Linked DNA regions of Homo sapiens: all the other regions are linked to region 2. Evidence: promoter capture Hi-C in 16 types of primary human blood cells and fetal thymus (Javierre and others, 2016). All regions are on one chromosome and are shown on one strand. The core of a region is centred on a gene start or on the middle of the fragment in contact, and the rest is flanking DNA. Distances in the headings are between cores, read along the strand shown. Region 1 overlaps USP54 (ubiquitin specific peptidase 54). Region 2 holds the start of SYNPO2L-AS1 (SYNPO2L antisense RNA 1). Region 3 overlaps USP54 (ubiquitin specific peptidase 54). Region 4 overlaps PPP3CB (protein phosphatase 3 catalytic subunit beta).

What was found. The method cuts DNA at HindIII sites, captures the fragments that hold promoters and counts their contacts. A CHiCAGO score of 5 or more calls a contact.
Region 1: a fragment that was not itself captured here is called in contact with the fragment with the promoter of SYNPO2L-AS1 in region 2 in 14 of 17 cell types (endothelial precursors, M0 macrophages, naive CD4 T cells and 11 more); the score reaches 11.9 in endothelial precursors.
Region 3: a fragment that was not itself captured here is called in contact with the fragment with the promoter of SYNPO2L-AS1 in region 2 in 1 of 17 cell types (endothelial precursors); the score reaches 8.9 in endothelial precursors.
Region 4: a fragment that was not itself captured here is called in contact with the fragment with the promoter of SYNPO2L-AS1 in region 2 in 2 of 17 cell types (endothelial precursors and total CD4 T cells); the score reaches 6.1 in endothelial precursors.

What each region holds. Positions count from the first base shown.
Region 1 is chr10:73,514,241-73,521,458 of GRCh38, reverse strand. It overlaps USP54 (ubiquitin specific peptidase 54), which reads left to right. Exons shown (of 24, transcript NM_001391956.1): 18 at 432-551; 19 at 1,467-1,662; 20 at 3,712-5,084. Among named protein-coding and RNA genes, the nearest start is that of PPP3CB, 22 kb to the right of the region's middle. The HindIII fragment of the contact is 5,288 bases long and covers 1-3,897 here.
Region 2 is chr10:73,652,140-73,659,714 of GRCh38, reverse strand. It overlaps SYNPO2L-AS1 (SYNPO2L antisense RNA 1), which reads right to left and starts at 5,676. Exons shown (of 3, transcript NR_187519.1): 1 at 5,409-5,676. SYNPO2L (synaptopodin 2 like) reads left to right here and starts at 3,686. Exons shown (of 4, transcript NM_001114133.3): 1 at 3,686-3,897; 2 at 5,435-5,586; 3 at 6,062-6,576. The coding sequence starts at 3,793. RefSeq lists a silencer at 3,450-3,744. The HindIII fragment of the contact is 5,539 bases long and covers 4,826-7,575 here.
Region 3 is chr10:73,498,599-73,505,910 of GRCh38, reverse strand. It overlaps USP54 (ubiquitin specific peptidase 54), which reads left to right. Exons shown (of 24, transcript NM_001391956.1): 21 at 485-603; 22 at 921-1,061; 23 at 5,073-5,256; 24 at 6,723-7,312. The coding sequence ends at 7,282. It overlaps PPP3CB-AS1 (PPP3CB antisense RNA 1), which reads right to left. Exons shown (of 5, transcript NR_132104.1): 3 at 6,224-6,316; 4 at 1,639-1,727; 5 at 1-633. Among named protein-coding and RNA genes, the nearest start is that of PPP3CB, 6.2 kb to the right of the region's middle. The HindIII fragment of the contact is 303 bases long and covers 5,527-5,829 here.
Region 4 is chr10:73,475,086-73,482,096 of GRCh38, reverse strand. It overlaps PPP3CB (protein phosphatase 3 catalytic subunit beta), which reads left to right. Exons shown (of 14, transcript NM_021132.4): 2 at 2,580-2,780; 3 at 3,474-3,598. Among named protein-coding and RNA genes, the nearest start is that of PPP3CB-AS1, 17 kb to the left of the region's middle. RefSeq lists silencers at 1,680-1,880, 3,240-3,440. The HindIII fragment of the contact is 2,262 bases long and covers 526-2,787 here.

The DNA of each region.
Region 1 (7,218 bases), core at 4-2,503, 130 kb after region 2:
TGTTCTGACACTAGTTGGCAAGAATTGCACTGGGAAAGAGCAGTTCAATTCCGGGCATAAGAACCTAACCTTCTGCTATTACTTTGTTCTTTCCTTGAGGGACTTCCTCCGCTCGCACTGTCATATAAGTACCGCGCGCTAACCGATTGCACCACTGGAGCTCCTTCCTTGAGGGACTTCCTAAGGGTCTTGGTGTTAGAATATGTGGCCATTAATGGCATGCCTCTCTTTCATGGCCTTGGTAACATCTTGGTTAAGGCAAAATGGATGTCCTGCTTGTTTTCAGATAATTCTTAATAGGAATAGACAGTTGGAATAAGGGTAGACCAGTGGCTCAGCAGCAAGGATCTCTGTGTACTGAAGGGAAACAACAGTACACAGGAAAATTTGGAATGAATTGTAATGAAAATGAAAAGTGCTGGCCCTTTCAGGGAGGAGTGACGGCTTTGAGAGGTCCCTGCAAGAGGCAGAGTCAGTGTTTGAAGAGTCACTACATCTGGAACAGAAAGGAGACTGTGCTGCAGCTTTGGCTCTCTGTAATGAAGCTATCTGTAAGTAACTCTAACTGCTATGGCTGTGGCACTTTTGACTAACTTCACAATAGGTATTATTAGTGTTGTCACTCAGACAGGATAAAAACAGTTTTTGTGTCTCCTCACTCTTGCTCTCCCAAACTGAGTCGCGTTAGCTGTTTTTGCCCTTTGATTTCTAAGTGTACCTGGCACTGGCACTGTGGCCTATGGATATTTACCAGAATAACCTCAGCAAGGAATCCATAGATGATTTCTCCAGTCATGCCTACCTTCTTATTTCAGGATAAAGTTAGACCTCAGATGTGAAATTAGTCTGCTCTTTTGCTAGTCACTGGCTAGTGGGTTGGAGCTTATAGAAGGAAAACTGAATAAATTGGCTATGACTTCCCAGGCCTGTGACTTTTTAATTCAGTATTTGATTCTTTCTGATTCTCCCCTACCTTCATAGTATGCAGCACCATAAACTTACAGCAAGAGACTAAGGCTTAGAATTGGTATCAGCTTCTTGTATGTGACCCACAAGAAGCTGTGGTCTATAAAGACAGATGCAGGTTTGGATCTTATTTCTGCTGTTGGCCATTGGGAAGAGAGGGGTGAGAGTAGAGTGTGGAGACCAGAGTCAGACAGGTCAGATGCAAAGGACAAGAGTGGCAATCTCTAAGATGGAGGCACTGGTTTATCTTCTTGATTTATTTTAGTTTTGTTTTTTTAATTTGGATTAACCTGTTTGGCCTCCATGGCTTCCATCAATGTTCCTTATAGCCAGAGGCAGCTGTGTGCCCTGGACAGCATATGCATGGTCCATGCCTTGCGTTCCTGCTACATATTTTGAGTTTTACTGCATATCTTTGCTCATTTTTTTTCAATTTTATTCTTTTTATTTTTATTTGTGTTTTGTGTTCTGTTTCTGCTATATTTTCTTTTGCATTTTAGCTAAACTAAGACTTGCCCTGCATGGTGCCAGCTGTAGCACGCACAGCAGAGCCCTAGTCGATAAGAAGTTGCAAATCAGTATTCGAAAAGCACGGAGCCTGCAGGATCGCATGCAGCAGCAGCAATCACCACAGCAGCCGTCGCAGCCCTCAGCCTGCCTCCCAACACAGGCGGGGACTCTCTCTCAGCCAACAAGGTAGTGCTTGGGAACCATGTTAGTTTATGAATGCCAGGGGAAGAAATGACCATGAGTATTCTGTAGCAAGAGCTCTCATTGTCTTGGCGACTGAAGGGGAGAGAGGAGTCCTCTGAAAAGATTTTCTTCTTTCAGGTCAGACATACAGTGAAAAGCTCATTGTACTGCTGGTCCTTATCTTAATAATTCCTAGGATGCAAAAAGTACAGCATAATAAGACCATTTGTCCACATTTCCCATGGGTAACTTTAGCCCTGGACTTGTGTAATAACGCGATTATTATATTTGTATATATTATGTTCTTAGACATGGCAATCCAGGCTACATTTCATGTTGTAGTAGCTACCATGTGATTTATTTTGGGATTTCAGTGCTTCCTATCCTTATGGAAGCAGAGAAAGCAGTCTTTCTTGCTCTGATTGCACCATAGAGAAGAGACACAAAGATTCCCTTTGCTTTGCTTCTTTATGGTCAGGACTAGGAAAGAAGTTCCAGTAGTCATTGTTGTAGTTCTCACATCTTAGCCCTGGAATTTGGCTTTTACTTAGAATAGATGAATTTAAATAAACATTAATTTGGACCGTTAATAATTCTGAGTAGTTTTCAAAATATAAATTAGTAAAAGCAGTTAACATTTTTTTTTTTTTTTTTTTTTTGGAGACAGGATCTTGCTTTTTCACCCAGGCTGGAGTGCAGTGGCACGATCACAGCTTACTGCAGCCTCAACCTCCTGGGTTCAATGTTCAAAAGGCAAATGTTCAAAAATAGTTAACTGCTAGGCATGGTAGCTCACGCCTGTAATCCCAGAATTTTGGGAGGCCGAGGAGGGCAGATTATTTGAGTCAAGGAGTTTGAGACCAGCCTGGGCAACACGGTAAAACCCTGTCTCTACAAAAAACACAAAAAATTTAGCTGGGCATGGTGGTGCATACCTGTGGTCCCAGCTACTTAGGAGGCTTGGGTGGAAGAATCGGTTAGCCCGGCAGGTCAAGGCTGCAGTGAGCCGTGATGGCACTGCCACACTCCAGCCTGGGTGACAGAGCAAGACCTTGTCTCAAAAAAAAAAAAAAAAAAAAAATTGCAGGTCTATTTGATGCTAAAGCACATGTCCTTAACCATTATGTAATATTGCCTTGTATGATTGGGCTTCCCATATTAGTAAATCATATTCTCCATAATGTTATAAGGGTGACTGGGTGACTATATCCTCAAAAGTTGATAGTATATTTTCATTCAAATTTAGGGGCTTGTTTTGAATATAAGCAATTTAGATAGGTAAACCGTTTCCAGAAAACGTATACATCCTGATGTATGTGAGTGATCGAGGCTTTATTTAAGTCCTTGTAACATTAAGTTTTTAAAGTCAGAAATACAAAACAATTAGTGAGAAACCAACTAAATACAGTTAATCCCTACTCCTACTCCTAAATCTCAAGAGAGTCATATTGCTTTGGGGAAACATCTCAGTGACTAATAGAACAAAATCCAGATTATAAAAACATATTTGAAATGGTTAATTTCTGTGTATTCCCATGAGCCCAAATCACCCTGTATTTTGTAAATGTGGCCTCATAGTTCCTTTGGCCGGGCTGCCTCTCAGGACCCCAGGTAGGACTTGCCTCCCTGTATAGCATCCTGGATTTTTGCTGTTTGGTATGAGTGATTTTCAGGCTTTGCTTACCTTCCATGTCATCTGCATGTGAGACTAGCTGATTTTGTTTCCTAATTTGCAAGTAGAATGTGATTGGAATGCGACTTCACAGGTAGTGAAGAATATTGGCAAGGGCTCCACTTAATGTTACTGTGCAACTTTGGTGAGGGTGTTTAATAAAGAGGATTAACGTTACCTATTTACCTGAGTGTGAGCTGACCATGTGCCTTTTCTTTTGTGATCCTCTGAACTACTGACTCTACTTGTGCTTGTCTTTCTGTTTATTTTTACCATTCCCTGTGTGAATAGCTAGAAATGGGAATGGAATGTTGAGTTCTTTCTGTAAGTGTTCCTGTCAGTCAAGGCAGCTTATGACTAGCTCTCTCCATTTGTTTCAGTGAACAGCCTATCCCGCTCCAAGTATTGTTAAGCCAAGAGGCCCAACTGGAATCCGGCATGGATACAGAGTTTGGGGCCAGTTCTTTCTTCCATTCACCTGCTTCCTGCCATGAGTCACACTCATCACTATCTCCAGAGTCATCTGCCCCACAGCACAGCTCCCCCAGTAGATCTGCCTTGAAGCTTCTGACTTCGGTTGAAGTAGACAACATTGAACCCTCTGCATTCCACAGGCAAGGTTTACCTAAAGCACCAGGGTGGACTGAGAAGAATTCTCATCATAGTTGGGAGCCATTGGATGCCCCAGAGGGTAAGCTGCAAGGCTCTAGGTGTGACAACAGCAGTTGCAGCAAGCTCCCTCCACAAGAAGGAAGAGGCATTGCTCAAGAACAGCTGTTCCAAGAAAAGAAGGATCCTGCTAACCCCTCCCCGGTGATGCCTGGAATAGCCACCTCTGAGAGGGGTGATGAACACAGCCTAGGCTGTAGTCCTTCAAATTCATCAGCTCAGCCCAGCCTTCCCCTGTATAGAACCTGCCACCCCATAATGCCTGTTGCTTCTTCATTTGTGCTTCACTGTCCTGATCCTGTGCAGAAAACTAACCAATGCCTCCAAGGCCAAAGCCTCAAAACTTCATTGACTTTAAAAGTGGACAGAGGCAGTGAGGAGACCTATAGGCCAGAGTTTCCCAGCACAAAGGGGCTTGTCCGTTCTCTGGCTGAGCAGTTCCAGAGGATGCAGGGTGTCTCCATGAGGGATAGTACAGGTTTCAAGGATAGAAGTTTGTCAGGTAGTCTAAGGAAGAACTCTTCCCCTTCTGATTCTAAGCCTCCTTTCTCACAGGGTCAAGAGAAAGGCCACTGGCCATGGGCAAAGCAACAATCCTCTCTGGAGGGTGGGGATAGACCACTTTCCTGGGAAGAGTCCACTGAACATTCTTCTCTTGCCTTAAACTCTGGGCTGCCTAATGGTGAAACTTCTAGCGGAGGACAGCCCAGGTTGGCAGAGCCAGACATATACCAAGAGAAGCTGTCCCAAGTGAGAGATGTTAGGTCTAAGGATCTGGGCAGCAGTACTGACTTGGGGACTTCCTTGCCTTTGGATTCCTGGGTGAATATCACAAGGTTCTGTGATTCTCAGCTTAAGCATGGGGCACCTAGGCCAGGAATGAAGTCCTCCCCTCATGATTCCCATACGTGTGTAACCTATCCAGAGAGAAATCACATCCTTTTGCATCCACATTGGAACCAAGACACAGAGCAGGAGACCTCAGAATTGGAGTCTCTGTATCAGGCCAGTCTTCAGGCTTCTCAAGCTGGCTGTTCTGGATGGGGGCAGCAGGATACCGCCTGGCACCCACTTAGCCAAACAGGTAAGAATGCAACCAGGGGTTGGGGGGAGGGGGGAGGATCATATAAAAGCTGAAAGCAGGGAAAGATCAGAAGGGAGTGTTCTATACAGATACTATCCCCAGCTTAGTAGGAGGTAATAGAACTTTTGACTTTACTCAGAAAGCCTTCAGGACAAGACCTAGACATTTTTCTGGCTAGAGTGGAGGAAGGGGCAGAATTACCACTCATAGGCAACTTCCCTCCTTCTAAAGTAAGAGATTACTAAGTATTTGCCCATGGCTTCTCCAGTATGCTGTGCTAAAGAATGGTTCAGGGCCGGGCACGGTGGCTCACTCCTGTAATCCCAGCACTTTGGGAGGTCGAGGCGGGCAGATCACAAGGTCAGGAGATCGAGACCATCCTGGCCAACATAGTGAAACCCCTTCTCTACTAAAAATACAGAAAATTAGCCGGGCGTGGTGGTACTTGCCTGTAGTCCCAGCTACTCGGGAGGCTGAGGCAGGGAAATCACTTGAATTCGGGAGGCAGAGGTTACAGTGAGCTGAGATCGCACCACTGCACTCCAACCTGGGTAACAGAATGAGACTCCGTTTCAAAAAAAAAAAAAAAAAAAGAATGGTTCATAGGTGTTTGAGAGTGATTCAGCATGACAGCATGAAATGGAGGGAGGCTGAGAGGAAAATATATTCTTCTATGGCTTAGAATCCCAAGATTCAGCCTCCAGGTCTGCTTTGCAGTAGGATGTCCATATGCTCAGTGTGGACATTTCCAGATCATACTGAACCAGCAATATCAAGACCTTCCTGATCCCTTTAGGAAAAGTCAAGTTTGGTGTTCAAGGAATTTTTAATGTACTATATGCCTACAGGGTAGCCACTGACTGAGATAATACAGAGTGAAGAGTAGAGCCTGCACCTGAAGTGCACATCATAGTCAGTTCTGGAAATTGAAGACATGAAGAATGTTTGTAACTTACATTGATGCACTTAACTCCAAAGCCTGAACTATTTTCCTGATTCCAACATTAACTCTCAGTATAAATTTGGACAAGTCACTTAATATCCCAGGGCCAAGGTTTTACCTGTAAAATGAGAGAACTGGCTTTTTTTTTAAAAAAAGATATGTTCTAACTCTAAAATGGCATGTATGATTCTGTGAAATTGAACTTGGAGAACTTTTCCTTAGCTTGGCTGTGACAGTTTCTGTAATGGTGCAGGTTCCTTGCATGCTGACAACCAACATATAATTACAGTTGAGTAAGTGTTTATTGAGTACTTACTGTGTTCTCCAGAGCCTTTGAGGGGAATACCACATAAATATAAGATTTGATTTTTTATTCATTTTTTTTTTTTTCTGAGAAGAGTTGCACTCCTGTTGCCCAGGCTGGAGTGCAATGGCGTGATCTCAGCTCACTGCAACCTCCGCCTCCCGGGTTCAAGTGATTCTCCTGCCTCAGCCTCCCAAGTAGCTGAGATTACAGGCGTCCACCACCACACCTGGCTAACTCTTGTATTTTTAGTAGAGACAGGGTTTCACCACGTTGGCCAGGCTGGTCTTGAACTCCTGACCTCAGGTGATCCCCCCGCCTCAGCCTCCCAAAGTGCTGGGATTAAAGGTGTGAGCCACCGTGCCTGTCCTAAGACTTGATATTAAGATACATTTCTGAGGATCCGTATCCTAATGTAGATTTTACAATAACATTTACTAAGGTGGTCTTTGATAGGACTGGTTGATATGGGAAGAATCTAAAGAATAAGGGAAAGCTGGAGTCTGCCTCAGTGAGCTTTCTATCTAAGGAAGCAAGAATACACAAATAATTTTTTTTTTTTTTTGAGACAGAGTCTCGCTCTGTTGCCCAGGCTGGAGTGCAGTGACGTGATCTCAGCTCACTGCAACCTCTGCCTCCTGGGTTCAGGCCACTTCTCCTGCCTCAGCCTCCCGAGTAGCTGGGATTACAGGTGTGTGCCACCACGCCCAGCTAATTTTTATATTTTTAGTAGAGATGGGGTTCACCATGTTGGCCAGGCTCATCTCGAAGCCCTAACCTCAAGTGATCCACTCGCCTTGGCCTCCCAAAGTGCAGGGATTATACACGTGAGCCACCGTGCCAGGCCACAAGTAATTATTTTAAGAATAATAAGGCCAGGCATGGTG
Region 2 (7,575 bases), core at 4,427-6,926:
TATTAGGTTTGGCATACAATATGGAGGTGACATCTATTACTTCCAGTGTATTATAGATACTTTAGCTCGAAAAATGAGACCTGTACCTAGATGGGCACCAAAAGGGACTGGTTAACAAATATTGCATATACAGGGGTTGCCCAGGCTGGAGTGCTGTGGCACTATCTTTGCTCACTGCAGCCTCCGTCTCCTGGGTTCAAGCGATTCACCTGCCTCAGCCACCCAAGTAGCTGGGATTACAAATGTGTGCCACCACACCTGACTAATTTTTGTATTTTTAGTAGAGACAGGGTCTTACCATGTTGGCCAGGCTGGTCTCAAACTCCTGGCCTCAAGTGATACGCCTGCCTTGGCTTCCCAAAGTGCTGGGATTACAGGCCTGAGCCACCATGCCCAGCTCGGTACCATAGTTTCTTGAGGATAGAGACTAATGTGTTGCAATTTATTGGTTTCTGTATCTGCACTCAGTGGTTCTCAACCTCGGTTGCATATTAGAATCATCTGTGGCGCTTTTTATTTTTATTTTTGAGACAGAGTTTTGCTCTTGTTGCCCAGGCTGGAGTGCAGTGGTGTGATCTCGGCTCACTGCAACCTCTCCCTCACGCGTTCAAGCGATTCTCCCAAGTAGCTGGGATTACAGGCATGCGCCACCACGCCTGGCTAATTTTTGTATTTTGAGTAGAGATGGAGTTTCACCATGTTGGCCAGGTTGGTCTCAAACTCCTGACCTAAGGTGATCCACCTGCCTTAGCCTCCCAAAGTGCTAGGATTACAGGCGTGAGCCACTGCACTCGGCCTTGTGGTGCTTTTTAAAATGCCACTACCAGGTACCAGACCAATAAAATCTGTCCCTAAGGATGAGATCTGGGTGTGTGTGTGTGTGTGTGTGTGTGTGTGTGTGTGTGTAAAACTTCATTGCATCATCATTTAATCCTATATGCTGATATGCTGTCTTTTTTTAGGGACTCAGTAGCTGTAAACGTTTTCTAGGTGATTTTAATATGTACTGAGGGTTAATTGAAATCCATTGGTATAGCACAATGGCTGACATGTAGCTAACACTCAATAAATGTTTGAATAGTGAATGAATAGATATTTAGATCCTCTTTTTTTTTTTTTTTTTTTTTGAGACAGAGTTTCGCTCTTGTTGCCCAGGCTGGAGTGCAATGGCGTGATCTCAGCTTACTGCTACCTCCACCTCCCAGGTTCAAGCGATTCTCCCGTCTCAGCCTCCCAAGTAGCTGACACTACAGGCACCCGCCACCATGCCCGGCTAATTTTTGTATTTTTAATAGAGACGGGGTTTCTCCATGTTGATCAGGCTGGTCTTGAACTCCTGACCTCAGGTGATCCACCCACCTTGGCCTCCCAATGTGCTGGGATTACAGGCGTGAGCCACCGAGCCTGGCCTAAATCCTCTTTTTACTGGTGAGGCCAAGTGACTGCCCTGCCTGAGGTCACACAGCTAGTAAGTTATTGAGGAACCCAAATTCAAGCTGGGTACGGTGGCTCATGCCTGTAATCCCAGCATTTTGGGAGGCCGAGGTGGGCGGATCACCTGAGGTCAGGAGTTCGAGACCAGCCTGGCCAAAATGGTGAAACCCCGTCTCTACTAAAAATACAAAAATTAGCCGGGCATGGTGGCGGGTGCCTGTAGTGTCAGCTACTTGGGAGGCTGAGACGGGAGAATCGCTTGAACCTGGGAGGTGGAGGTAGCAGTAAGCTGAGACCATGCCATTGCACTCCAGCCTGGGCAACAAGAGCGAAACTCGGTCTAAAAAAAAAAAAGGGGGTGGCCGGGTGCAGTGGCTTTCACCTGTAATCCCAGCACTTTGGGAAGCTGAGATGGGCGGATCACGAGGTCAGGAGTTTGAGACCAGCCTGGCCAACATGGCGAAACCCCGTCTCTACTAAAAATACAAAAAGCTAACTAAGTGTGGTGGCACATGCCTGTAGCCCCAGCTACTCAGGGGGCTGAGGCAGGAGAATTGTTTGAACCTGGGAAGCAGAGGTGGCAGTGAGCCAAGATCTCCATTGCACTCCAGCCTGGGCGACAGGGCGAGACTCCATCTCAAAAAAAAGAACCCAAGTTCAATTCTTCTGACCCCAAAATCCCAACTATTTTCTTCTTGGAGATCAGGTCTCCCTCTGTTGCCTCCAATGTTTTCTCCCCTTTTTCTTTTTTTTTTTTGGAGACAGGGTCTCACTATGTCACCCAGGCTACAGTGCAGTGGCAGGATCACGACTCACTGCAGCTTCGACCTCCAGGGCTCAAGCAACCCTCCCACGTCAATATCCCAAGTAGCTGGGACTATAGGAGCATGTGACCAGGCAGGCCTGGCTAAATTTTTTTGTATTTTTTTGTAGAAACAGGGTCTCACCATGTTATCCAGGCTGGTCTTGAACTCCTGGGCTCAAGCAATCCACCTGCCTCAGCCTCTCAAAGTGCTGGGATTATAGGCATGAGCCACTGCACCCAGCCCAAGTGTTTCTAGGACATAGAGGCATATGCCAAGGCAAACGGTATTTAGCATACACTAGGTGGGCAGCTATTTTATGAAACTCTGTAGCCTTTGATAATCACAGTTATAGCACCATAATGTTATGCCTTGTAACAGAGACATTCTCGTAATGGAAACCTAGAGACAAGTAGAGATTGTATTAACATGGGTTGGTATGTTTATGCACACCTACACACCTTTCCATGACCACGTATGTATTGCAATAGGTAATTTGTTTTTTTATAGTTTTTTGTTTGTTTGTTTGTTTTTTTTTTTTTTTTGAGACGGAGTCTCGCTCTGTCACCCAGGCTGGAGTGCAGTGGCACGACCTCGGCTCACCACAAGCTCTGCCTCGCGGGTTCACGCCATTCTCCTGCCTCAGCCTCCAGAGTAGCTGGGACTACAGGCGTCTGCCACCAAGCCCAGCTAATTTTTTGTATTTGTAGTAGAGACGGGGTTTCCTCGTGTTAGCCAGGATGGTCTCAATCTCCTGACCTCGTGATCCGCCCACCTTGGTCCCAAAGTGCTGGGTTTACAGGTGTGAGCCACCGTGCCCAGCCTATAGTTTTTTGGTTTTTTTTTTTAACTTTTTTTAATAATAAGAAAATAGAGATGGGGGGCCATCTCACGATGTTGCCCAGGCTGGTCTCAAATTCCTGGACTCAAGCAATCCACCCACCTTGGCCTCCCAAAGTGCTAGGATTACAGGCGTGAGCCACCATGCCTGGCCCACCATTTATTAATTAACAGATAAATTTATATAGCGAGAGTGCATTCTTTCCTGGGATCTTGGAGCAAGCCCAGCCATTCTTTGCCAGCTATGGAATTGAAGCCCCTGCTGCTGCCACTTTGAAAGGGTCTTTGGAGGAAAGCAGTTGAGATTAGCCCATGGTCCTATTAGAGAAGGCACAGTTCCTGAAAGGGTGTACATTGGTTATAGAGCCCAGAGAGTTTGTATTCTGAGTCCTGAATAAAAGGCCCATGCAGGAGAATTGGGAACATGGAGGGCAGAAGTTTGTACTATAATTAGCTCTAGGAGTAACACAGAAGGGGGAGGGAGGGGAGTACAAGCGGCATCTATTTTGAGCACATCTGCGATTGACGGGACATGTGTGCTGGACTGTAATGATCCCAGGGCCAAGTTGCCTGCCTGTGGTGTGTGGTGTGGGGGGGAGGCCTGGGGCAGCAGGAGCAGGACAGCCGGACAGGAAGCCCAGACGGGGTTCGAGCACCTCAACTTCTCTCCTGGGGACACTGTTCAAACTCCGGGGGCCATAGGCCAAGCTGAGCGATGGGTGCTGAGGAGGAGGTGCTGGTCACACTATCAGGGGGAGCCCCCTGGGGCTTCCGACTTCATGGGGGGGCCGAGCAGAGGAAACCGTTACAGGTGTCTAAGGTAAGGGAGAGCCCCTGAAATGAGGCTTCAGGGAAAGGGAACCCAAGGGATCCTGGGAAGAGATGTGTGGTGGCATATGGCGGGGGTTGGGGGGGTGGGAGGCTGTGAAGATGGGGTGGGTGGTGGGCAGGGAAGTATGCTCAAGTCTCATAGTGGGAGTAGCGTCTGACCACAGGCTTCCTGTGGGGGTCTATTAGAAAAGAGAATTCGCGGTTTCCAGGGAGCAGAGGAAAAGGAAAGGCTCTGCTTCAGTTCCCTGCAGCACTGTGGTATCAGAGGCCCAGCTCTGGTCATCCAGTGTTTGTTCTCTTGGGTATGTGCCTCTACTCCAAACTCCAGAAATACGGGGAAGGTTCTAATTTCTCTCTGACTAAACTGATATGTGATGAACTGAAACTGCCTCGAACAGCCTAGCCCAGCCCAGCCCTACCCTGCCTCACCCTGCCCTGCCCATGCCTTCAGTGCTCTTTCCCTAGGTCAGATCCTTTCTCTCACTAGGCAAGACTTTTTTAGGTGCTAGGAGGGTTATGGCAAGATCTGGCCTCACAGATGAAGTCATTATCCTTTTGGTTTCACCCTACAGGCTTAGTTTTCCGAACTGTAAAATGTGGGTAATAATAGTACCTGTACCTACTTCATGGAACCATTCTAAGGATTAAATGCAATAATACATGTAGCACAGTGCCCAACACTTAGTAAGAACTCAATAAATGGTAGCCACTACTACTATTATTACTTTGGCATATATACATTTGTGTGTATACATGGCACACATATACCCAAATAATCACAATCTCCCAGAATACCGCTGGACTCCCTCCAACCTGGAGTACTGTTCTAAAATCTTGACTGTGTAATGGCGCCTGGGGTTACAAGGCCTAGTAGAGAATTACCAGCCAATATAGATATTGCCCTTGGAGAAAAAGCTTGTGGAGATAATCACCATTTCTTTCCGTTTTTTTTCTTTTCTTTTTTTTTGCGACAGAGTCTTACTCTGTTGCCCAGGCTGGAGTGCAGTGACATGATGGCTCACTGCAACCTCTGCTTCCTGGGTTCAAGCAATTCTCCTGCCTCAGCCTCCCAAGTATCTGGGATTACAGGCGCACACCACCACGGCCAGCTGATTTTTGTACTTTTAGTAGAGACAGCGTTTCACCCATTGGCCAGGCTGGTCTCAAACTCCTGATCTCAAGTGATCCACCCACCTAGGCCTCCCAAAGCACTGGGCTTACAGGCGTGAGCCACTGCACCCAGCCAATAACCACCATTTCTAGTTACCTACCCCATGCAGTTCTTCCCAAGCCTCTTTCATTCAATGGTTACCCTATTTCCCACCATATGATGTATTTCTTTCTCCAGTCTGTATACTTTCTTCCCTCTAGACAGGCCACTTCAACTGCAGCCACTTCCATGCATCTCCCCACCCTTCTTACCCTGCAAAGTAAAATCCCCTCCTGTGGGTCCTTCCCATCTTTTCCTTTCATTCTATTCCCTTTGGAGCCCCCTCTTACCTACAGTGTCTCCTTCAACATCTCAGATTCGAAGACGGAGCCAGGCTGGCAGAGCAGGACTCCGAGAGAGGGACCAGCTCTTGGCAATCAATGGGGTCTCTTGCACCAACCTCTCCCATGCCAGTGCCATGAGCCTCATCGATGCCTCAGGAAATCAGCTTGTCCTCACTGTGCAGCGGTATGGACCTCTCTCCTCTTCTCTTCCCCTAATCCAGGGCTCCCATTGCCTGTCTCAGCTCTATGTCTCACTGGCCTGGCTTTAGCAACTAACAGGTACCTATTTCTGCTCGTGCGTTTCTGCTGGAGTGCAGATGGTTTGTGTCTGCCTCCCAGAGGGCTTGAATGTATCTGCAATTAAGGGATGGGGATGTCAGTGGGTATTTGACTGATGAGCCTACTTCAACCCCTGGCCTGTTTCCTCCTCATTACATCTTCCTCTAAGCCTATTTCCACTCACAGCCCTTCAAGCACATTTGCCTCCCAGTTTGTCTTCATATCTCCACTCTTCCCGGCCCACCCATTCCAACTGTATGACAGCCTTCTCTCTCCCTTACCTCTTCCCTCCCCCTTACCTCTTCCCTCCATCCCTTCCAGATCTCTCTAGCTGTCAGTACCCAGCCCATCTCTCAAGCTCTGTCATCTTTCCTATCCAGGTTAGCAGACGAGGGTCCTGTGCAATCTCCATCTCCCCATGAGCTTCAGGTGCTGTCACCCTTATCTCCACTAAGTCCTGAGCCCCCTGGTGCTCCAGTTCCTCAGCCTCTTCAGCCTGGGAGCCTTCGTTCACCTCCTGATAGTGAGGCTTACTACGGAGAGACTGACAGTGATGCTGATGGCCCTGCCACCCAGGAGAAGCCCCGTCGACCTCGCCGCCGAGGCCCCACAAGGCCCACCCCTCCGGGTGCCCCACCTGATGAGGTCTACCTGTCTGACAGCCCTGCAGAGCCAGCACCTACTATCCCTGGCCCTCCCAGCCAGGGTGACAGCCGTGTGAGCTCCCCGTCTTGGGAGGATGGGGCAGCCCTTCAGCCACCCCCAGCTGAGGCTCTGCTGTTACCCCATGGCCCCCTCCGACCTGGTCCTCATCTCATCCCTATGGTGGGGCCTGTTCCCCACCCAGTGGCAGAAGATCTTACTACCACCTACACCCAGAAGGCCAAGCAAGCCAGTGAGTGCCTGAACCCCTTTTCCCCAGCCAGGATCCTTCAATCTGAGCCTTAAATCCAGCCTTCTATAGCCGTACATTCTCCCTACCTTGGGACCCTTGGATACAGTCTTGGGGACAGGAGGGGTAATGAGTAGAAGGGGAGCATAATTATTCTCATGGCCACCATTATTTTTGCTGTTTGAACCAATGTGGCAAAAGGGTAAGGTGATTCAGTTCAACCCAGGAACAGGGTAAGTAGGGAAATTGGAAAGGGACACAAATAGATGAAGGGTTTGGTGGTGGTGATAATTGTTATTGTGTGTCATGATTGGGTGAAAGCAGAGTACAGACACAGGACAGGGGAGTATTTAAAAGCAGGTTGAAGGCGGGGCAAGGTGGCTCATACCTGTAATCCAAGCACTTTGGGAGGCTGAGGTGGGAGGATAGCATGAACGCAGGATTTTTGTTTTGTTTTGTTTTTTGTTTTTTTGAGATGGAGTTTGGCTCTTGTGCCTAGGCTGGAATGCAATGGCGTGATCTTGGCTCATTGCAACCTCCGCCTCCCGGGTTCAAGCGATTCTCCAGCCTCTGCCTCCCGAGTAGCTGGGATTATAGGCACCCGCCACCACACCTGGCTAATTTTTTGTATTTTTAGTAGAGATGGGGTTTCACCATACTGGTCAGGCTGGTCTCGAACTCCTGACCTCAGGTGATATGCCTACCTCGGCCTCCCAAAGTGCTGGGATTACAGGCGTGAGCCACCATGCCCGGCAGAAGCCAGGAGTTTGAGACCAGCCTGGACAACATCGTGAGACTTCGTCTCCAGTAAAAATTTTAAAATTAGCCAAACACTGTGGCACATGTCTATGGTCCCAGCTACTTGGGAGGCTGAGGCAAGAGGATTGCTTGAGCCTGAGAGGTTTGGGCTGCAGTGAGCCATGTTTGCGCCACTGCACTCCAGCGTGAGCAACAGACCAAGACCCTGTCTTAAAAATAAATAAATAAATAAATAATAAAAAT
Region 3 (7,312 bases), core at 4,429-6,928, 150 kb after region 2:
AAACTATCTATATTCTAAAATTCTTGTTTCTTTTTTTTTTTGAGACGGAGTCTCGCTCTGTCACCCGGGCTGGAGTGCAGTGGCGTGATCTCCGCTCACTGCAAGCTACGCCTCCCGGGTTCACGCCATTCTCCTGCCTCAGCCTCCCGAGTAGCTGGGATTACAGGTGCCTGCCACCACGCCCGGCTAATTTTTTGTATTTTTAGTAGAGACAGGGTTTTACCATGTTAGCCAGGGTGGTCTCGATCTCCTGACCTCGTGATCTGCCCGTGTTGGCCTCCCAAAGTGCTGGGATTACAGGTGTGAGCCACCGCGCCCAGCCCCTCTTGCTTCTAAATTCCAGGAGCATGTTCCTCCGTTGAATTCAAGGATGCATATTTATTATTAAATGAAACAACAGCTCCTGAGTTTGTGCTGCTAGGCTTAGAGGTTAGGCCCTAGGGGAAGAGATGGCCTCAACTTGTATTTGTGTTTTCCTCTTCAGGCTCTGCAGATGGCATGGGGAGGAGGTTGCACTCAGCCCATGATCCTGGTCTCTCAAAGACTTCAACAGCAGAAATGGAGCATGGTCTCCATGAAGCCAGAACAGTGCGTACTTCTCAGGTAGCAGCCTCAGGTGCTAAGGTGCTGGGCCTGGGGTGGTGTGTTGGGGAAGGAATTATGGAGAGATGTGACAGGGATGATGATAAGGCAGAGGCATGGTGATATGGGGCTATCAGAAGAAAATAAGGTCTATGATTGGGCTTCTTTTGAATTAGAGGAGATTGTTACATGGCCACTATCTTACCAATACATCTAATTCAGGTGTCTATTACTACTGAGTCTTCCCCTACTCTTTCCCATACCCTGAGGATACTGTCTGTGGGAAAACCATAAGTCTGGTATTATGTGTCTGCCTGTATGTGTCTGTGTGTTTGAAGGCTACACCTTGCCGAGGCCTCAGCAGGGAGTGTGGGGAGGATGAGCAGTACAGTGCAGAGAATTTACGTCGCATCTCACGCAGTCTCAGTGGCACCGTTGTCTCAGAGAGGGAGGAAGCTCCGGTTTCTTCCCACAGTTTTGTAAGTAGAATCAGGGTCCATCTATTCAGAGCACCCTCCTCCTTGCTAAGCAAAAATACAGTGCAGGTGAAGAAGCAGGGAGAAAGTGAAGGTTGTAATGTGAGGAAAGGCCCTGTGTACTCAGCAAAAATAAGGACACGCAGTCATTATTTTATTTACAAACATTCAGCTGGAGCCCAGAGGAATGTCCATTCCATGTAGCAGTTCTGAAAGGCCGTGCGTGTTGTAGGGTTTCCTGGGGTGAGAAGAGTCATAAAGCCTTGAGAGGAATCTGAGAAGCAAAGGCTGCTGATTGGGTCAGAACCCACTGCACTAATCAAAGAAAGAAGGAAAGAAATGGGATGGAGTATTGGTTTGCTTTTTCCTCTCACCCCCAGTATGTGATTGAATAGAATTCAGTGTGTTTTCAATCTAAAGTGATGCATGTGTATCAGCAAGAAGAGGAAAAAAGCCTTCTTGAGAATTTTCATATGGTACTAGTGCAGTAATGTGTAAGTAGAAGAGGCAGGAAAGCCCAAGCCATTAGAGATCAACAAACTTAAATAATATCAGTGGCTAGGTTTGTAGGTAATCATACCTTTGGAGAATTTCACTTCCTTGCCCAAGTTGAGTGTTCATCACAGTAGAGGTCAGGGTACAAAGTACCAGTGCATTGAAGGTTGTCCACTAGGTCAGTTCAGGAAAAATGTAAAAACAGATTTTAAATACATGGTACAAAAATAAAAAGGTATAAAAGCATATATGGTGAAAACCAAGTCTGTCTTCTACCAGCCCTTCAGATTCAGTTTCCCTCCTAAGAGGTACTCATTTTTCCAATTTTTAAAAATCAGCCGAGGCCAGGCGTGGTGGCTCATGCCTGTAATCCCAGCACTTTGGGAGGCCAAGGATGGTGGATCACCTGAGGTCAGGAGTTCGAGACCAGCCTGGCCAACATGGCAAAAATATAAAAATTAGCCAGGCATGGTGGGGGGTGCTTGTAGTCCTAGCTACTCGGGAGGCTGAGGCAGGAGAATCGCTTGAATCCGGGTGGCAGAGGTTGCAGTGAGCTGAGATTGAGCCACTGCACTCCAGCCTGGGTAACAGAGCAAGACTCTGTCTCAAAAACAAAACAAAACAAACAAAAAAACCCAGCCGAATTTATAGTAAGTTTCATTCAATTTATCGTTCATAAATTCCTAAGCAATTCTGATCAGGCTGCCATTCTTTTTTGGAAAAGGTGGACTCTCCTGCCTAGCATTTGTTCTCATGTACTTTCAATTCATTTAATGGCAAATTGTTCTTTTCCTAGGAGAGTTGGCTTCCTTTCTTCTGACTTCTGTATCATTCATTGATTCATTCTTTTAAATAAATGCTTATTGATTCTGTACAAGATTCCTAGCACAAAAATAAACAAATAAATAAGTGCTTATTGAGTGTGTTCTAGGTATTGTGCTAGGTGCTGGAGCTACAATGGTGAGTTAGATATAGTCCCTGCTTTTATGGAGCTTACAGTCTACAGTGAGGGACGGATAAATAAACAAACAGTTATAATGTGTTAAGGATTTGATCCTATGGGAACATAATAGAAGGGATATTTAAATCAGGCTTGAGGTATCATGGAAGGCTTCCTGGAGGAAGCAAAAAGAATATAGCAAGTAAAAGGGACCTGAGCAAATATTAACTGAATTAAAAGAAGCTTATTTAGTATGGCAGGATTAGAAAGTCTGGCAAGGGGAGATGATGGAGAGTGTTGACAAGAGAGGATACAAAGAATATTATGGACCACAGACAGCCCTGTATGTCACAGTAAGTAGTTTGGAAGGATAGAGATAAGTCGATGTATTTGAGACCCAGTTAGGAAGTAAACATCAGTGGGAGTTGGTGCCTGCCTGGATGTTGGGAGTGGGGATAAAGGATGATACTCAAGTTTTATGGGTAGATAATGATATATTTGAGGGAAGATATGCATTCAGTTTTACATATATTAAGCTTGAGTGGAGGTATCTGGCAGGCTTTTGGAATGAGATATATAAGCTGCAAATTGAAATCTGGGAATCATAGCCATTGAAAAAGAGGAAAAGACTTGCAGAAAGAGAAGAGGAGCCAGGACATATCCCTAAAGAGCATCAGATTTAAGGTGGTTCTTCTGAAGAACCCTAAAAGGAGACTGAGAAAAAAAGATTAGAGAGACTGAAGGGAAACCAAGGATGTGTGGTACCATAGTCACCAAGGGGAGAGTGTTTCAAGAAGAAAGGAATAGCCGGGCGCGGTGGCTCACGCCTGTAATCCCAGCACTTTGGGAGGCTGAGGCGGGCAGATCATAAGGTCAGGAGATTGAGACCATCCTGGCTAACACAGTGAAATGCCGTCTCTACTAAAAATACAAAAAAATTAGCTGGGCGCGGTGGCGGGTGCCTGTAGTCCCAGCTACTTGGGAAGCTGAGGCAGGAGAATGGTGTGAACCCAGGAGGCAGAGCTTGCAGTGAGTGAGCCGAGATTGCGCCACTGCACTCCAGCCTGGGTGACAGAGCGAGACTCCGTCTCAAAAAAAAAAAGAAGAAAGGAATAATTAGCTGTGTCACATGCTGAGAGGACTGGCACCTGGTCCTTAGGCAGTATGATAAATGCTTACTTTGTGCCATTTTGTAGTAGGTGCTGTGAGCATACACTGATGAAACAACACAAATTCTGCCCTTGAGTAGCTTGCAGTCTCGTAAAGGAAATTAGACATACTGGCATATAGATTATTTTATTTAATGTATTATTACTAAGTGCCCACATTGTTCTAGGCACTGTTCAAGGTGCTGCGGATACAGAAGTAAAAAGAAATAGGGGAGAAGACAATAAACAAATAAATGACATAATGCCAGACAATGATAAGTATGATAAAGAATAATAAGGCAAGAGAATAAAGAGTAAAGAGGTAATAGTGGTTTTTTTGAGGGCTATTCCTGATAGTAGGGTAGTGAGGGAAATCAGCTCTAAGGAAGTAACTTTTGATTAGAGATCTCAGTGATATGAAAGTATGAGCCATCAGAAGAATATTCTTGGTAACAGAAACAGGAAGTATAAAGACTCTGAGGTAGCAATGAGCTTGGTGTGTTTGAGGAATATTAAAGTTAGAGTGTAAAAGCTCCAGGAATGATAGGAAATAAAGTGAGGAGCAGCAGGGCCATATCACACAGGACCTTGTAGGCCACAGTAAGGAGGAGTGGATGGGAGATAGGAAAAGCAGATTGAAGGCTGTTGCAGTAGTCCAGGTGAATTTAAATATAAAACCCATAGGTAGAAATGATAGTCCTTGGCAAGTAATGGAATTGTGGATGGGAAGTGGGAAATCAAGGTCATTGCCAATGTTTGAATATGGGTGATTTAGGAAAATGAGGTGCCAGGAGGAGGAGTTTGGAAGGATTTTGGTTCAATTTTGGATATGTTAGTGTTTCAGATGTTAAAGGGGAATATTTCTGGGTATTTATCATAAAAGTAGATAACTAATAGGGAGTAGAGCAGGACATTAGCATCAGTAAATACAAACTTGACAGGCAAAAGAGGAAGCTGTGGAATGTGTAGCAGTGACAGGAGAGAAGATGGGGTAGAGTTCTTGATTCTACATTTAAACATATATAGTTTCATTCCCAGTACTTAGAATAAGTGAAGGATTTTTTTTTCTCATTCTCTCAGGCTTTCTGAATTTCTCATATTTCGTTTTTATTTTTAAATTTCTATCTCAATCTCTCTAATTCTACTGTTAGCATTAAGGAGTTTGCTAAAGACCTGAATGATAGGGTTGGGAAGGTGAGGGATATGAGGAAGACTGGTTAAGGGATAAGGATCTGAAGTTTGCAGTTTCTTAGAGGGCTAGCAGGGAGAGCAACTGAGTAAATTGGGTCCTGTTCCAGAACAAGGCATGTAGGCATGTTTGTGCTCTGGTTCCCTCCATTTCCCTTTGCTTGCCTCACTGTGTTTACCCAACTACATCCTGCTTTGTGTTAATCCTCATCTCTATGTTTTTTTGTCTTGTCTCATTATAAGGATTCATCAAACGTGAGGAAGCCTTTGGAAACCGGGCACCGTTGTTCCAGCTCCTCTTCCCTCCCTGTCATCCATGACCCTTCTGTGTTTCTCCTCGGTCCCCAACTCTACCTTCCCCAACCACAGTTCCTGTCCCCAGATGTCCTGATGCCCACCATGGCAGGGGAGCCCAATAGACTCCCAGGTAACTCCCCCAAATCTAATATTATATGCCAGAATTTGGTACCTTTTCAGGGGCCTCCAAGGGTCAAATCAGTATACCTATGGGGAGGGGGGTATCCCAAGGTGGAGTGGTGTGAAGATATGAATTACTGCTTCAAAGTCGTGCATTTATCTAGATAAATATTAAATCATTTGTTGGGCACCATGATTCTTAGACCAAGGGTTTAGACCAGCACCCCTAGAGTCTGTCTACTTACGAAAATGACCTGCTTCAGTCATGACAGAATAAGCTTTTAACTGACAAAGGGGAGTTAATACCCAGTCTTTGGGACATCCCCAGAACAGAAATGGTCATCTCTCCTTCTATCCTCTGAGCTAGTTTTCTCCCCTTCTATCCTCTGAGTCTCAGCTGAGGGATGGTCTAGGAAGATAAGGAATGAGTGGGAGAATTGGAAAGACCCTTTACATGGAGTACCCACACCATGTGTACAGACCCAGACAATTGTGGGGAAGGTGGGCAATATCATTTTGGCTTTCTTTGACCTTCCGAGTGAGATGTTCTCTTTTTTCCCCTCATGCACTGGATGTACAAGCTTGAGGCAGTGGTTCTCAATGGATAAAGGGGATGTACCACCGGTATCTAGTGGGTAGAGGCCAGGGATGTCCTCAACAGCACAGCCATTATTGTCACTTGCTCAGTTGTTGTTGTAAACCCTCAGAGTCAGCTGAACTATTTTAGGCCAAACATACTGTTTTTGCAAAGTATTTTTCATTAATAAATCACACAATGCACAGGGCAGTCTCTCCCCAACCCCAACAAAGAATTATCAGCCCAAGATACCAAGAGTGCCAAAGTTGAATAAATGTATAAGAAAAGGCATTCCACATTAGATCTCAGAGATCAAACAAAGGCAGCTTAACTGAAGTGAAGGTAACATTTTAAGAAAAGTTGGAGAAACAAAAAAAAAGCAAGGCACAGCGTCTCACACCTGTAATTCCAGCACTTTGGGAGGCCAAGATGGGAGGATGACTTGAGTCCAGCAGTTCGAGACCAGCCTGGGCAACACAGTGAGATCCCGTCTCTATTTTTTTTAAAAAGAAAAGCTGCGTGAGGTTTTGGTATGGTGGCTCTAGGAGTATAGTCATCACAAAGGGAGTATACGTTTGCCATATATTGCTATATATTAGGGAGCCCTTCTTTTGTAGGTGTGTGTATAGTGGATGAGAGATTATAGTGGAGGGAGGTAGAGGTATGGCAACATCCATGAGACTGTTTCATTTGCCCAGGTTGGAGGTATGAGATTTGATTTTGATGTATATTAAGAATTTTAAGAAATGGAATCAAAAGCACAGCTTGATTCATTCTTTCCCTTGTATGTATGCTCTTGGAGGAGTAGGGAATTGGGCTACACAGCTAGGCATGGCTCTCTGGGAAGGAGAATGGTTTTCTGAAGATGCTCAGTCTTTGGGTTTCTTTTCTTTCCCCAGGAACTTCAAGGAGTGTCCAGCAGTTTCTGGCTATGTGTGACAGGGGTGAAACTTCCCAAGGGGCCAAGTACACAGGAAGGACTTTGAACTACCAGAGCCTCCCCCATCGCTCCAGAACAGACAACTCCTGGGCACCCTGGTCAGAGACCAACCAGCATATTGGGACCAGATTCCTGACTACTCCAGGGTGCAATCCTCAACTAACCTACACTGCCACACTACCAGAAAGAAGCAAGGGCCTTCAGGTTCCTCACACTCAGTCCTGGAGTGATCTTTTCCATTCACCCTCCCACCCTCCCATTGTTCATCCTGTGTACCCACCATCTAGCAGTCTTCATGTACCCCTGAGGTCAGCTTGGAATTCAGATCCTGTTCCAGGGTCCCGAACCCCTGGTCCTCGAAGAGTAGATATGCCCCCAGATGATGACTGGAGGCAAAGCAGTTATGCCTCCCACTCTGGACACAGGAGAACAGTGGGAGAGGGGTTTCTGTTTGTTCTATCAGATGCTCCCAGAAGAGAGCAGATCAGGGCTAGAGTCCTGCAGCACAGTCAATGGTAAAGGTTATTCCTTTCCTTTCCTGGAGCTACA
Region 4 (7,011 bases), core at 407-2,906, 170 kb after region 2:
CTTGATTTATTTAGTAATCAATTCATTAAAAATGTTTATTTTTTAAACAATTACTCTACCATGAGGGCAAATTTGGTTATAGCATATATAATGGTTTGTTTAATCTTTGATTGGTAAAAACATTCTTTGAGGCTTTTATTTTATTAGAATCTTGACATGCTATATTTGGGGGTAAAATATACTTTAATGCCTTATTCTAGATGAGTAAAAAGTAATGGTAATACATGTTTCTTGTGAAGGGAAAATAAACAAGGTCCAGTTTTATTTTACTAGATAGCAAATAAAAAAAAAAAGAGGGATTAGTGATTTCAGTCTTTTAGAAATGGTTGGCATCTCTCTGCCTTAGTTCTTACCTCACTTGTAAAGGATTGAGTTCTTCCTTAATGTTTTCTCCTGGTATGAGAATGTGGTTATATTCTTTCTTAGGTAATTGATAGGAATCTAACCTAGTTTTTTTTTTTGTTTTTTTTTAGTTACTTTAAGTTGAAATGTAAAGGAGCAGTTGGTTCTGTACATTTCCAAGCTTCTCTGTAATAATTGATCATTACAATGATGACCCTAAAGCATCAGGAAAATACTGTATACTATATGCTCAGAGATATATATATGTATATATATATATATATTTGATGGAGTCTCACTGTCGACCAGGCTGGAGTGCAGTGGTGTAGTCTAGGCTCACTGCAACTTCTGCCTCCCCGGGTTTAAGTGATTCTCCTGCGTCACCCTCTTGAGTAGCTGGGACTACAGGTGTGCACCACCACACCCAGCTAATTTTTGTGTTTTTAGTAGAGATGGGGTTTCACCATGTTGGCCAGGCTGGTCTTGAACTCCTGACTTCAAGTGATCCACTGGCCTTGGCCTCCCAAGTCTGGGATTTCAGGTGTGAGTCACTGCACCCGGCCTATTTTTCTAAAAAAAAAAAAAAAAAGAAAAAAAAATCTGGAAAGAGGGAGCTGCCTTACATTTCAGTCTATATTTATTAGACTCCTAATGTACATTTCTCTCTCACTTTCTTTATTTTGAAAAACAAAGTACTATTCAGTAAAGAGCCTGAAACTGCTTCAGTCCAAGCTGATTTTGAATGCATAAAGATTTACTTGTTGGATTCAGTAAAAAAGGAATAAGAAAAACTTACTATATAGTAATTTTTCCTAGGTATATGACCTCAAAATTGTGCTTAGATGCCATTGAAATAGATGTTCATGTTTTCCATTCCACTCAACAAATATCACTTAAAAACAGTACAGTTGGTGATTTCTTACAGAAATCATAAATATGTACTGCGGAGTGAAAAAACCAACTACTTAACTATGATGAAATGGGAACTTTTGGTTAAATTTGTAGGGATAGGCCAGGTGCAGTGGCTCATGCGTGTAATCCCAGAACTTTGGGAAGCCAAGGCGGGCAGATCACCTGAGGTCAGGAGTTCGACACCAGCCTGGCCAACATGGTGAAACCCGGTCTCTACTAAAAATACAAAAATAAGCTGGGCATGATGGCGGATGCCTGTAATCCCAGCTACTCGGGAGGCTGAGGCAGGAGAATCCCTTGAACCCGGGAGGCGAAGGTTGCAGTGAGCCGAGTTCACGCCACTGCATTCCAGCCTGGGCGACAGAACAAGACTCCATCTCAAAAAAAAAAAAAAAAAAAAAATTACAGGGATAAATTTGCAGTGGTAACATTTTACACATATGCAAAAAGTGCTGTATCTCAAACAGTTTAGGTGGAAATGAGTATGATTTGCTTTCAGAATGTGTGTTAGGTGACTCAGAAAGTGACTTCAATGATAAGGAATGCACTGGTTTCGAATATATGCATAAAGATTTTGAATGAAGGTGTTTTGTGAAACGTTAAGTAAGGTAGGAGAAAAATCAGTATTTTGAAATTATGATTTATTATTTTAAGCCTCCTAAATTAATTTGCATTTCAGAAGTAAACATCTGGTGTTTGGTCTATATCTCTAAAAGTGTATAGTCAAGTTGGTCAGAAAACATTGTTTTTATGTTCTTATTAGAAAGGAACATGGTAAATCACCTTGTATTTGGGTTTTCTTTCTAGTTAGGCTTATTTGGTATTAAAGTGTTGTGGGGTTTTTTTTGAGATGGTGTCTCGCTGTGTTGCCCAGGCTGGTCTCCAATTTCTGGCCTCAAGTGATCCTCCTGCCCCAGCCTACGAAGTAGTCGTGATTACAGACATGCTTCACTACTCCCAGCATTAAATTATATTTATTGTACTTCATTTAAGGTAAAGAATATCTAATACTATAATACAATATTTTGAGAGTTCTGCCTAAAAATGTTTTGGCTTAAACAAAAAAGTTTTGGTTATCCTGAAAGAACTTAATTTTGTGAGACAACTCATTTCTCTAATAATTCTCAACAAAGAACATGTTAGTATAAATAGCTTTAAAAGTGGTATAATTTGCTTACTATTTAGAAAAACACTTCTACCCAATAAATGAAGAAGAAAGAAAAATCCCTGCTTTACAGTTTTTAGTCTTATCTAGATCCAATTATTAGTTTTTAAGTTAATGTATTTTTGGTGACTTATCTTTTATTAATTAAAAACATTTGCAGCTGTCCCTTTCCCCCCAACACATCGCTTGACATCTGAAGAAGTATTTGATTTGGATGGGATACCCAGGGTTGATGTTCTGAAGAACCACTTGGTGAAAGAAGGTCGAGTAGATGAAGAAATTGCGCTTAGAATTATCAATGAGGGTGCTGCCATCCTTCGGAGAGAGAAAACCATGATAGAAGTAGAAGCTCCAATCACAGGTAAGCTTATTCATGTTTTGGGTATTATTTTTATTATGTCATTATTTAGTTGCCTGGATTTACAACTTACTGTTTTCAATGATACTGTATGCTAAATCAATATTACTTGGACATTATCTTGAATTTCAAATTATTTTCCATACTTAAAAATGATTGCCTGTTTTCAGTGAATAGACATGATTCTAAATAATCTGAGTGTAGAAGTTAGTCTAATATGCTTTTGTGAAGGTTTCATCAATTGTGTTGACCATACTTCAATTTGATCAATACTTACTTTGCTTTCAATTGTTAGGGTCAAATACCTTGATGTCATATCAGATACCAAAAGTGACCATTTAGAGAGCAACAGAAAGTATTGAGTTAGAATGGATATTTTAACTGCCACCATTGTAATTTTGTCATCTTGAAACTTAAAACACATCCTTGGAGTCCTAGAGACGATCTTTATAAATGTAGATTTCAGTTTGTCACTGACCACAAATTTCGTTATTTCTGTTACATCTTTTTCTAGATCTTGAGCACATGAACACTTGGTTACACATCATCCTAATCATGACTGTTCATAGACTACTTCCTTCTCAGACATTTCTTGATAGCATTTGTACTATGTCTTATGTAAAATACGTTTTAACTTAAGTAAAATTTGTTGTTTTAGAGATTTTTTTCCCTTATCTAATAATCTTCTTGTTTCAGTGTGTGGTGACATCCATGGCCAATTTTTTGATCTGATGAAACTTTTTGAAGTAGGAGGATCACCTGCTAATACACGATACCTTTTTCTTGGCGATTATGTGGACAGAGGTTATTTTAGTATAGAGGTAATAATCATAAACTGTCATTTGATTTGCTGTTAAGTGTTAACACAGATGCTTTCACTTAATCCTAGTTTTCACAAGTACCTGTGTTAGGTTTTTTTAATAACTCTGCATATTCTGAAGTTTTTATGAAAAGCTACTATTTATTCCTGTTCTGTCTTTCAAACAATTCAAATAAATTTCTTTGTATAACTCTGTTTATATAATTATAATTGCCATTTTTTTCCCAGTGGAATTTATGAGCTGACTGAGGGGTCTTTATTGCCCTGTTAACTAGTGGCCTTAAAAATTTAGTGCTATTTATCTCTCTTGCCCCTAAAGGCATTAAACCATGTGAAAAAAGATTACTTGAATTCTGTCTGATTAAATAAAGTATATTGTGATTTTTTTATTGCTTGAGCCCTAGTGCTTCTGTTTCTCCTTGTGTAGCTATTAAGACTCAAGTATATCCTATGGAATCTTTGTGTATTTGGAAAGTATTAATTTGTTTTTAAAAACTTGAGGCATTAAAATGACCTTTTGATTATCACTTAACAGTAGATGGTTCCTTTTCTTCCTTTTTCTCTTTTCTTTTTCTTTTTTTTTGAGACAGGGTCTTACTCTGTGGCCCATGCTGGAGTACAGTGGCACCAGCATGGCTCAATGTAGCCTTGACCTCTTGAGCTTAAGGGATCCTTCTGTCCCAGTCTCTCAAATAGCTGGGACCACAGGTACACACCACCATGCCTAGACTAATTTTTAATTTTTTTGTAGCAATGGAGTTTCCTATGTTGCCCAGGCTGGTCTTGAACTCCTGGGCTCAAGTGATCCTCCTGCCTTGGACTCCCAAAGTGTTGAGATTACAGATGTGAGCCACATTGCCCTGCCATCTTTTTAAATTATATAAACAAAATGCAGCAAATGTAGAACAATATGTATTTTCCAATATATACATTTTTTCTTTTTTTAATGAAAAGGGGATCATATTATAATATTGTCTGTAACTTGCTTTTTCATACATGCCTACACCAAATATCCTTCCAAGTCAGTAAATATAAACTCGTAGCATCATTTTAATATCTACATTGTTTTCCATCTAATAAACAAACCATAATTAATTAATTCCTTGTGTTAGACACTGAAGATGTTCCCAGTTTTTTTCTTTACAAATGATGCTTTAATGAGTCATATTATTCATACATCTTTACATACTTGCCTGATTATTTTTGTAGGACAAATTCCTAGAGGTAGAATTGTGGGGTCAAATTTCTACCAATAGATACCTGTGTTGCACATTTAATATGTTCTAAGCATGTTCTAGGCACTGAAGACATATCGATTAATCCTCACAATAATATTAATGAGGTAAGTACTGTTGTTTTATTCATTTTATAGATGAGGAACCTGAGGCTTAGAGAGGTTAAGTAACTTGCCCAAGGTATTATTAGTAAACAGCATAGCCAGGCAATGTGACTCCCAGCATATGCTTTTAACCACCTTCCCTAGTAGATACTGAAACCTTACCTGGTGAATTTATGTTGGTTACTGTTGTTTATATCTCCTTCTCCAGTGTTTCCAATATACCTTTTTTTCTGAGGTGTGCTAGGATTCTCAGAGTGGAAGGAAGTTCTAGACTCTGTCTGTCCTGCTTCCCTTAGGAATTTTGCTATTTTGAGTTCTTCTTCCTCCTGCTGATAGTTGATTATTAGCCTCGTCAACTTTTCCCAAATTGTCACAGGGCTTCAGGCAAATCAGAAAATGGCCCATTTTAACAAAAAAATTTCAGGCATTTGACCAAAACAATAAAATAAACAGTTTTATGAAGCTTATTTGGTAACTAAGTTGGTGTGCATGTCCTTGTGTAAGATTGTTTTGCAGCTGACTCTTTTTTTTTTTTTTTTTAATTGAGATGGACTCTCACTCTGTCGCCCAGGCTGGAGTGTAGTGGCGTGATCTCGGCTCACTGCAACCTCTGCCTCCCAGGTTCAAGAGATTCTCCTGCCTCAGCCTCCCAAGTAGTTGGGATTACAGGTGCCCACCACCACTCCCGGCTAGTTTTTGTATTTTTAATAGAGATGGAGTTTCGCCATGTTGGTCAAGCTGATCTCGAACTCCTGGCCTCAGGTGATCTGCCTGCCTCGGCCTCCCGAAGTGCTGGGATTACAGGCGTGAGCCACTGCGCCTGGATGTAGCTGACTCCTTTAATACATTTTGTTGTTATAAAAGGAAAATAACAAAGAATCAAAATAAGCATCGAGAACAGATTATTTCCCTGATTTTATTACTTTTTTCCCTTTTGAATAAAATGAAGGATATGAATAGTTACATGTTTAGATATACCTTAATTTATTAACAATAAAGTTTTGTTGGGTGTGGTGGCTCACACCTGTAATCGCAGCACAGGTTGGCCAAGTCAGGCAGATTGCTTGAACCTGGGAGTTCGAGACCAGCCAGGGAAACATGGTGAAACCCTGTCTCCACAAAAAAAAAAAAAAAAACTTAGCTGGGCCTGGTGGCATGTGCCTGTAGTCCCAGCTGCTCAAGAGACTGAGGTAGGAGGATTTCTTGAGCCCAGAAGGTCGAGGCTGCAGTGAGCAGTAATTGTGCCATTGCACTCCAACCTGGGTGACAGTGAGACCTTGTCTCTAAAAATAAAAAAGTTTGTTTTTTCTTTTTGCATATGATTATATAAACCATGCTTATTTCCATATCAAATATTTCTTCCTTTTTTAAGCAAATAAGTAAAATGTGAGTCTCTTTCTTATGTTAAATCTATTTAGAGAATAGCATCTGCTATAATGTTTAATAATATTTTTATTTGAAAAATTACATTTGCATTGAATTAGTTCAGATAATAAGCACTTACCATATGTAAGGCAATATTCATAATCAATGAAACAAACATAAAACATGGACCTTCCCTTCATGGGCAGCATGGCATAATGCTTAAGATCAGAGGATCAGAATCCTATCTCCATCACTTAGAAGTTTTGTGGTTTTGGACAAGTTACTTGAGATCTTTGCTTCAGTTTCTCATTTGTAAAATAAAGATGATATTACATACTTCATAGTGTTGTTTGAGGAATAAATTAGGGGAATTATATAGTGCTTCACATATTGTAAGTACTTAATAAATGTTAGCTGCTGTTATTTTGACAGTATTATTTACTAATACGCATCTGTAGACCAGTGTGCTAATTGTTTTTATATTGGGCAGTCTGTAAATCCAAAGTAATTAAATAGATTGTTTGACTCATTCATTCAACAAATATTTATTGCTCTTCTCCTATTTGCTAGGTACTCTTCTGGGAGTGGAGAATCAAAAGTGAATAAGATGACAAAATCTGTGATTTTGTGGTGCTTATATTTTAGTAAGGGACAAAGAAAGATAATAGAGGATGGTAAGGGTAGTAGAGGAAAAGGAGCAAAGATCAAGC